2 separate regions of the Homo sapiens genome follow, and region 2 is linked to region 1. Evidence: promoter capture Hi-C in human tissues and cell types (Jung and others, 2019). All regions are on one chromosome and are shown on one strand. Each heading gives the region's core, a stretch centred on a gene start or on the middle of the fragment in contact. The rest is flanking DNA. Distances are from core to core; before and after follow the strand shown. Region 1 holds the start of LRRIQ3 (leucine rich repeats and IQ motif containing 3). Region 2 overlaps FPGT-TNNI3K (FPGT-TNNI3K readthrough).

Region 1 (3,612 bases), core at 1,081-3,580:
AAAAAAAAGAAATAATAACAGTACTGACCTCATAGTTGTAAGGATTAAAATAATGTTGGCTAATTAGAATAATGCTAATGTCATATTAATGTCATATACAGATATCTTATCTCTGGTATCAGGGGGCTTCAACTTTAAGTATCACATAGAAAAGAGCATTCAGAAAAACAGCATTTATTTCTATTTGCAATGGACGGTCAAAGGGCAAAGTTGACCTAAACTAGGGTTTTCAAATATATGTATTATATTTAAGCCATGTGACAGTGTTCTTTTGCATTCTGCATTATGTCCCTAAGAGGTCAAGAGTATTTTTTCCCACTAATTGCTTTCTTCATGTAAATTGCTGGAGGAACTCTGGAGTGGAGAGGACCTCAAGGGTTCTACTGATAAGGTCCAAAGGAGTATTCCTATCTGAATAGTGTGAATTTCATTAAAACTAATAAAATTTTCTTTTAAGTAACATTCTGGAAGTTTTTCAAGGTAAGTCATAATGGGTAAGAACAGTTGCTATTCCTTTTATCTTTCTAAAAAAAGTCAATTTATGTTCAAATTTTAAAGTTTGTAAAGCTGTGGGTAGAGATATGCAGCTTATACACTGTAAGTCACAGAAACCTTTTCTTCAATGATTATTCTGCTTAGGACCTATATTATAAAACTGACCATAAAGCGCGTACCAATTTTGGCTCCAGCAGGATCCACAAAAACGTGATATTGAACTCCAAGGGGTAACTCCTTTCTTTTCAGCTTTTCTGACAGCTGTTGGTTGTAAGCAAGTTCCTGTTTTTCATCAGCCGCTGTTATTGCAACTATGTCCCAGAATTCTCCACGTGCTACAAGTTTGCCTATTTGGAAAAAGCAAGGAAATGAAAACAAAAATTATCAGAATTTTCTAGTTGCCACAGGTTTGCCTATTGAGAAAGATGATAAAGAAGGTAATATCCATTATCATCTTCCAAAATGTATCTTTGGCTTTTGAAAGTTAGGGAATAATTAGTGGTGCATTAATACGATTCAAAATAGTTATAATGAAGACTGTTCACAAGTTCCTTTTTTTTCTTTTAGATCACTCCCTCCTTTTATGGTTTGCAATCCAATTTAATTATAAATTCTGAATGACATAATGTTTCTTGATTAAGAGAGCGACTTTTAACTTGCCAAAGACTATTGCCTCAATTCTTCAATAAGAAGAGGAGATAAACATAAACAAATCTCCAGCTTTGCAAATCAATTCTTATGTATCACGGACACTTGGTGTTAGGTGACTAAGAAAGACACAACCCAAAGATCCCTTCCCTCAATGTTGCTGTTTATAAATGTGGGTACTTTATTTTCTATTACTTTAAGATGAACCATGCAAACTTACATAGGCTGTTAGAATATAACATAAAATTCTGGATAACAGAAGGTCCCAACTCTCTGATGACATCTTTAAAAGACAGTGTGCACTTTTAGTAGACAGTTGGAATCTCTTTATTGATAAACAAAATGATTTAGCATTTTAATTAGTTAACAAACAGAACTTGTCAGCTAGAATCTAATAGTCCTGAAAGTTTTACTGTTATCCAAGAATTAGTCCCAGTATTTTTTAAGCAGTCACTGCAACACAAATATAATCACTTTTATTAGACAGGTGTACAGGGATTAAGTGTCATAGCCAATTTTTTGATAACAAATTTCTTCCTTTTAATTTTTAATCCATAATTCCTCCATGTTCTGTTACTCCCTCAACAAACGGTTACATTACAGAAGTAGATGAACGTAATGTAAAGCGTGAAGTAGATAGGGGGCTGGCATCTACTCATAAAGTTCAAAATACTGTGCTTCGTATCTTTTAGATTTATTTAAAGCAACTTTTATTAATGAGCTAATCAATGCATAACTTCACTAGTAAGATTTTCTTCTTCTTCCTCCGCCCTCATTTTTAATATCTATACTACTAAGAATAAAGTAAGCAACAAGCATGTCAAGCAGGGACAGTGAAAAGAATAAAAAACTCAAAAGGATTATTAGCTAGCTACTCCTGGGGAGCGTCATAGGCCTACAGATGAGAAGTAAACGGGAAGTGACAGTCCAGCAAACCTCCTGGCACGTAAAAGCACCCTCCCTCTGCATTGCCCAGGAGAACTCCGGTGCCTTCTCTGGTACCTCTTAGCTCGGAAAACCTCCGCAATTTTCGCTGGGTGGCTTCTCGCAGCGATACTTCCGGAGGGTCCCTAGCAGCTGCCATAGCCCCACCTTCCCTGAGACCGCGCCGCACAGCACGCATGCGCCCTGGGGTGCGCCTCCGCCCGGTTGTTTCTGACCCGCCCCCTCCGTGCGTCGCCCACGTAACCACGCCCCCGGAGCGCCTTGGCTGGCGCCCGGAAAACCATGATGTGGAGAACTTGGATGTTGTCTTGTTTCTCTAGCAACGGTCTCAGGAGCAGATGGCCGCCCAGCGATTTGTCTGACTGTGTTGGGGCTGGGCCACTTGTCTCCAACTCATAAGGGCTTGCAGCCCAGTTGACCCGGTGAGTGGTTCAGTTTGGGTGACAAAATTGTTAGAACCGACCCGCTAAGGATAAGGCGAAACTACATTCTAGCTTCCCAGCTTTCACATCAAAGGCGGTTCGTCCTAACTGGTGGTTTGTTTCAGCCTGGAGCAGTTCCCCAGGATAGCCTGATAGAAGATCTCCGCCATCTCTCCTTTCCCCCGCCACCCCGGGCCATCTGCCCCCAACCCTGGGTCATGATACATACACAGTCTGAATATTTAAAATCTCTGCTCTTTCTAGGAACCTTAAGTTTGTGGTTCCTAGAGAGTGAGCCACCCCACCCCTCTGTTTTTTCTTAGTAGGCTACACACGACAGCCTCTCAAATAGTGTCTTTGAAAGTTGTATAAAATTCAGTCCGCAACCAGGCTCCAAATATTTTTGGTATTTTGGTTTCTTCTCTGGCATTCTTTTGTATATGCAGATTAATCTAGAATGTTCAATAACACTCTTAGGAATAAGTCAGCCTTTTTAGGTGTTTTTTTGGGTAGCTATATAAAGGTGTTCCTGTTATAGAACACGAGGTTTCTTGGTTTTACAGACCACTTCATCTTTACACAGAAGAAAACTGAATCAGAGAATAGTGAGTTAGTCAAGGTATCACAATTAGTAAGTAATAAAAGATTTAAGAAATATATTTCAATCCCAAACCCAGAACTTGTGGTATTTCACCATACCGTTTGATTTTTTGAGACGATTTCTCTGTATCAACGTCTTCATTAGGTACGTAGACATTCAGGGCACCATAAACTCTTGTCATAAATTTACTTAGTTTTTCTTCTCAGACTTGTTATACAATCGTGTTCTAATAGTGGAAACATTTGGATAAAATGGCAGATTAGATTACTCTTTCATAGTTTTACATTTAAAACTTCATTAATTAAAAAAACAGTATCTTATTGAAGAACATTTAGAAAATACAGAGACTTGAGTGAAAGTAACCAAAGGAGAAAGTAGCGAGAGAAGGTCAGAGAGAGAACAAAGGGCCATAGGAAGAATTTTGGTTTTTACTCTTGAGGGAAACAAAGCCATTGCAGGGTTTTGAAGTGACTTGGCTTATGTTTAAAGAGATCACTCGGA
Region 2 (3,837 bases), core at 1,096-3,595, 290 kb before region 1:
AATAGGGCAAATATGGATGGAGTTATGGGTCCTCACAGTAACTTTTCATAAGCACCAGCTCATCTACATTCCCTGACAGCCTTGGATATGCAGGGCTTTTTTATGGACATATTTCAGAAGCTAAAGCTTTTACCTCAATGTTGCAGAGACACTCTTCTAACTTCATGACAACTTCAGAAAATTCGGGTCTTCCCTGTAAATAGAAAAAAGAACTTTTTTCCCTTAAGAATAAAAGGAAGGAGACTCTCTTTGGATGTTAAAATTGGGTATTAGCATTTGTAAAGAATGAGATTAACAATAAAGTATATTTTTATTTAAAATACACTTTTATTGAAGTGTTAATTGAATGTTCATTTGCTGTTCATGGAGAGATGTTGAGTCTCCCTCTGATAAGAGTTTTAAGTCAGAATTTGCAACTACATTCAGATAATGAAATAGTGGAAAAGCTTTAATTAGCTTTGCATGTTTTTAAATGGCAGGTTTCCTCTTCAAAATGAAAGAATAATAGTGAATACTAAAAACTATTAACTATCTCAGTGCCTTGTAATACACTGCACACTGTGTATAAAAAGAACTGCTAAGGCTAGATTTATAATGAACTTCACTTTTGAAAAGATCATCTCAGATTCAAAACTAAGATGATGATAGAAACCTCAGGACTATGCCTTACTTTAGGGTTTAAGGTAAGCTTTTTACCTTCAGACAGTGCCATTAAAAATATTGCCCATTATGAACCTCTGTGTCAGACGAGTTTGGTTAAAAAAAAGTTTATTCCAAATATATTTCAAGCTTTGTTCCAGTTGCAAGGGATATAAAAATGATTATTGGAAAAATTCTTGGAATTTTAGAAAATGTTGGCCTCTTCTGAGAAAATTGTCTTCTTTTGTCAGATCCTAAAACTATACACCCTATCATTTCTCCTTTTTTGAAACTTTCACTGCCAGGAGGTGGAGAGCCCAATTTAACATTCAGGTTCAGTAACCAAATAATTTAGATTCTTAGTAGAACAATTTCTCCCTTACTATCTAGCCCACCCCTGAGAACACTGCTTCCCTTATAAGCTGTTTCCTCTCACATACTCCTTGTATCTCTAGGTTGGTGGGGGCAGTGGGAGCAGTGGGAGCAGTGGAGTGAGCAAAACCCTGTGTCTTCCTTGCTGTCACTGCTACTTCCAAATGGTTTCTCCTCTAAACACCACCAGCTTGTCAGGCTATACCACCAGAGTCTAGCCACACCCCCTCATTCTTTGGGGATTTTAAAAACTGGCTTACTTCATACTCTCTAACACTACTCTTTGTACTTTTATTATCCATGCAAATGATCATTAAAATAGCCTGACCTCTGGGTTCCTTTGCCTACTCTTCTCCAATGAGCTTGTCCTCCAAACTCCTTTAGTCACTCAGCCCCTTAGTTATACCCTAGACCCTGTCATGACCAATGCCTCCACCCCTCCATGCTCTTTAACCTCTCAATCTTTATCAGACAACTCTCTGAGCTGTCCCTTTCTCTCTACCTCACTTCCTCTAGAAACCTGACTCCAACAAGCTTTGATCACACTGGTACTTGGAAGCCATTTTACCACTTAAAACAAAACAAAATAAAACAAGAGCTTTTTATTACGAGCAGTTCCAAATATGTCCTAAAGTAGATGCTCTTCTTTCTACCTACCTACCCATCTGCCTATCTTTTTCCCTACTTGTTTTTTTGCTCACTTCATCATCTTTTCGCTGTCACTCACTTTCCCTTTACCTTATATTTCATTTACATTTATCATTAGATTCACTTCCAACTATCACTCCCTTCCACACATCCTCAACTCCCTTGCTTCATCTTGCATTTGGTACAGTACTGAAAGAATCCTAAACTTTATTGAATCCATTCTGCCTGGTCTCACTTCAAAATCTTGACCCTCTAATCTCCCATGGACCGTCAGTACTATTCAGAGAGCCTATTACATATTTCTAGTCCATTCACTCTCTCACACTTCGGATGGCTATTTTGTACCTTTTCCTCTCTCCTAAACCTCTAGCTCCCACTACTACATTGACCTACTCACCTATGACCTACATAATTTGCCCTCACTTTTGTTTCTGTGGATGAAATTTGCCTGATTCTCAGGCCAACTCCTTCACTTGTGTGCTCCAGCAATAATTCTCTCATCCATTTTTTTTTGCATCGTTCATGTTCCTTCTGTATTGTTTAATCTCCACCAGCATACAGACATACTATACATTCTCCTATCTTAAAAACAAACAGCAAAATAAAACCCTTAACGTCCTCCTTCAAGCTACTGTTCCATTGCTGTTTACTTTACAGCAAAATTGTTCTAGAGTTATCCAAATTTGCGGTCTCTAATTCCCCTTCTCCCATTTGCAATCCATCCTAATCAAGCTTTCTCCTACAACACTGCTGAAACTGCCCTTGTCAAGGTTACAAAGATCTCATTGCTAAATTCAATGGTTACATCTCAGTGGTCATTTCACTTGGCATAGCATTAAATATAAGCAACAATTCCTTTGTCCCTGAAACATGTTTTTCAATTGGCTTTGAGGACACCATTTTCTTATTTTATTTTTTTCTGCGCTCATTGGCTTCTTCTTAGTCTCCTCTTTTGGTTTCATCTCTCCTCCTTATCTTTAAGCTTTTTATTGCCCCAAGACTCAGTCTTTGAGTCTCTTTACCCTTTAAAATTAATTTGTTGAGGAGTTAATTCAGTCTTATGTCTTTAAAAAACAACTTCCAGATTATTATCTCTAGCCCAGTACTTTCTCCTGAACTCTAAACTCATACATGCAATTAATTATATTTATAGCCTTTCCCATTTCAGTAAATGGAAACTCCATCCTTCTGCTTGCAGAGGCAAAAAAAAAAAAAGCAAAAAACAAAAAACACACACAAAAAAAGTGATGATGTTTGACTACTCTATCATACTTTACTCTTATATACCAGCAAATTATATTGATACTACCATTCAGTATCTGAATGATCAAGTAGCTTATATTAGATCAACCCTCCTACAGAAAACAACGAGAAACTCTGGACAAAATGTAAATGACAGCTACCTGAAGGCACTGGAAAGTTAATAAAAGCAAGTAGATCCTGGAGGGGAGTGAGTCACTTAGAAGAAAGGAACTAGTATATTTCCCACCTCTCTCTCTCTCTCTCTCTCTCTCTCTCTCTTTATAGCATTTAGCCTGAGGGTAGACCACTTCTGCATTTTAGGAAACAATTAAAATTCTGATGGTTTGCTTGTTTGAAGGAACAGAGGACAGAATTCAGGGCAACTGGAGTGTATTAGTTATTGTTTTATAACAAATTACCATAAACCTAGTGATTTAAAACAATGTTCATTTTTTATCTCAGTTTCCACTGGTCAGGAGTCCAGTATAGATTAGCCGGGTCCTTTGCTCAGAGTTTCACTAGGCTGAAATCAAGGAGTCAGCAGGCACTGTGATTCTCATCTGAGGCTCAAGGCCTCTTTTAAGCGCATTGGTTGTTGGCAGTACTGATTTCTTTGTGGTTGTATGACACATGTCTGTTTTCTTGCCATCTGTTGCCCAGAAATGACTCTCAAATTCTAGAGGATGCCTACAGCTGCTTGCCAAATAGGCAGTTCACAACATGGCTATTTGCTTTTTTCCTAACCGGCAAGGGCACATGCCTGACTTCCACTCTGTGACCAGCTGTAAAACTTATTCTGCTTTTGAAGGGCTCACCCAGTTAGGTCAGACCCACTTGGGATAATCTTCCTTTAGTCATATGATGAAACATAATCATGGGAGTAATATCTCATCATATTCACAGGTTCTGCCCACACTGAAGGACAGGGTATTCTAC

The links. Contacts are between HindIII fragments. The study calls those that stand out against the background at their distance.
Region 2: a fragment that was not itself captured here is called in contact with the fragment with the promoter of LRRIQ3 in region 1 in 1 of the 25 tissues and cell types used here (dorsolateral prefrontal cortex).

The regions. Positions count from the first base shown.
Region 1 is chr1:74,196,894-74,200,505 of GRCh38, reverse strand. It overlaps LRRIQ3 (leucine rich repeats and IQ motif containing 3), which reads left to right and starts at 2,330. Exons shown (of 8, transcript NM_001105659.2): 1 at 2,330-2,510. FPGT-TNNI3K (FPGT-TNNI3K readthrough) reads right to left here and starts at 2,264. Exons shown (of 27, transcript NM_001112808.3): 1 at 2,146-2,264; 2 at 675-842. The coding sequence starts at 2,227. It overlaps FPGT (fucose-1-phosphate guanylyltransferase), which reads right to left and starts at 2,264. Exons shown (of 4, transcript NM_003838.5): 1 at 2,146-2,264; 2 at 675-842. The coding sequence starts at 2,227. RefSeq lists a silencer at 2,327-2,426. The HindIII fragment of the contact is 10,329 bases long and covers 1-3,612 here.
Region 2 is chr1:74,485,545-74,489,381 of GRCh38, reverse strand. It overlaps FPGT-TNNI3K (FPGT-TNNI3K readthrough), which reads right to left. Exons shown (of 27, transcript NM_001112808.3): 24 at 134-193. TNNI3K (TNNI3 interacting kinase) reads right to left here. Exons shown (of 25, transcript NM_015978.3): 22 at 134-193. The region is part of intron 1 of LRRC53 (leucine rich repeat containing 53); the gene reads left to right. Among named protein-coding and RNA genes, the nearest start is that of LRRC53, 25 kb to the left of the region's middle. The HindIII fragment of the contact is 3,211 bases long and covers 740-3,837 here.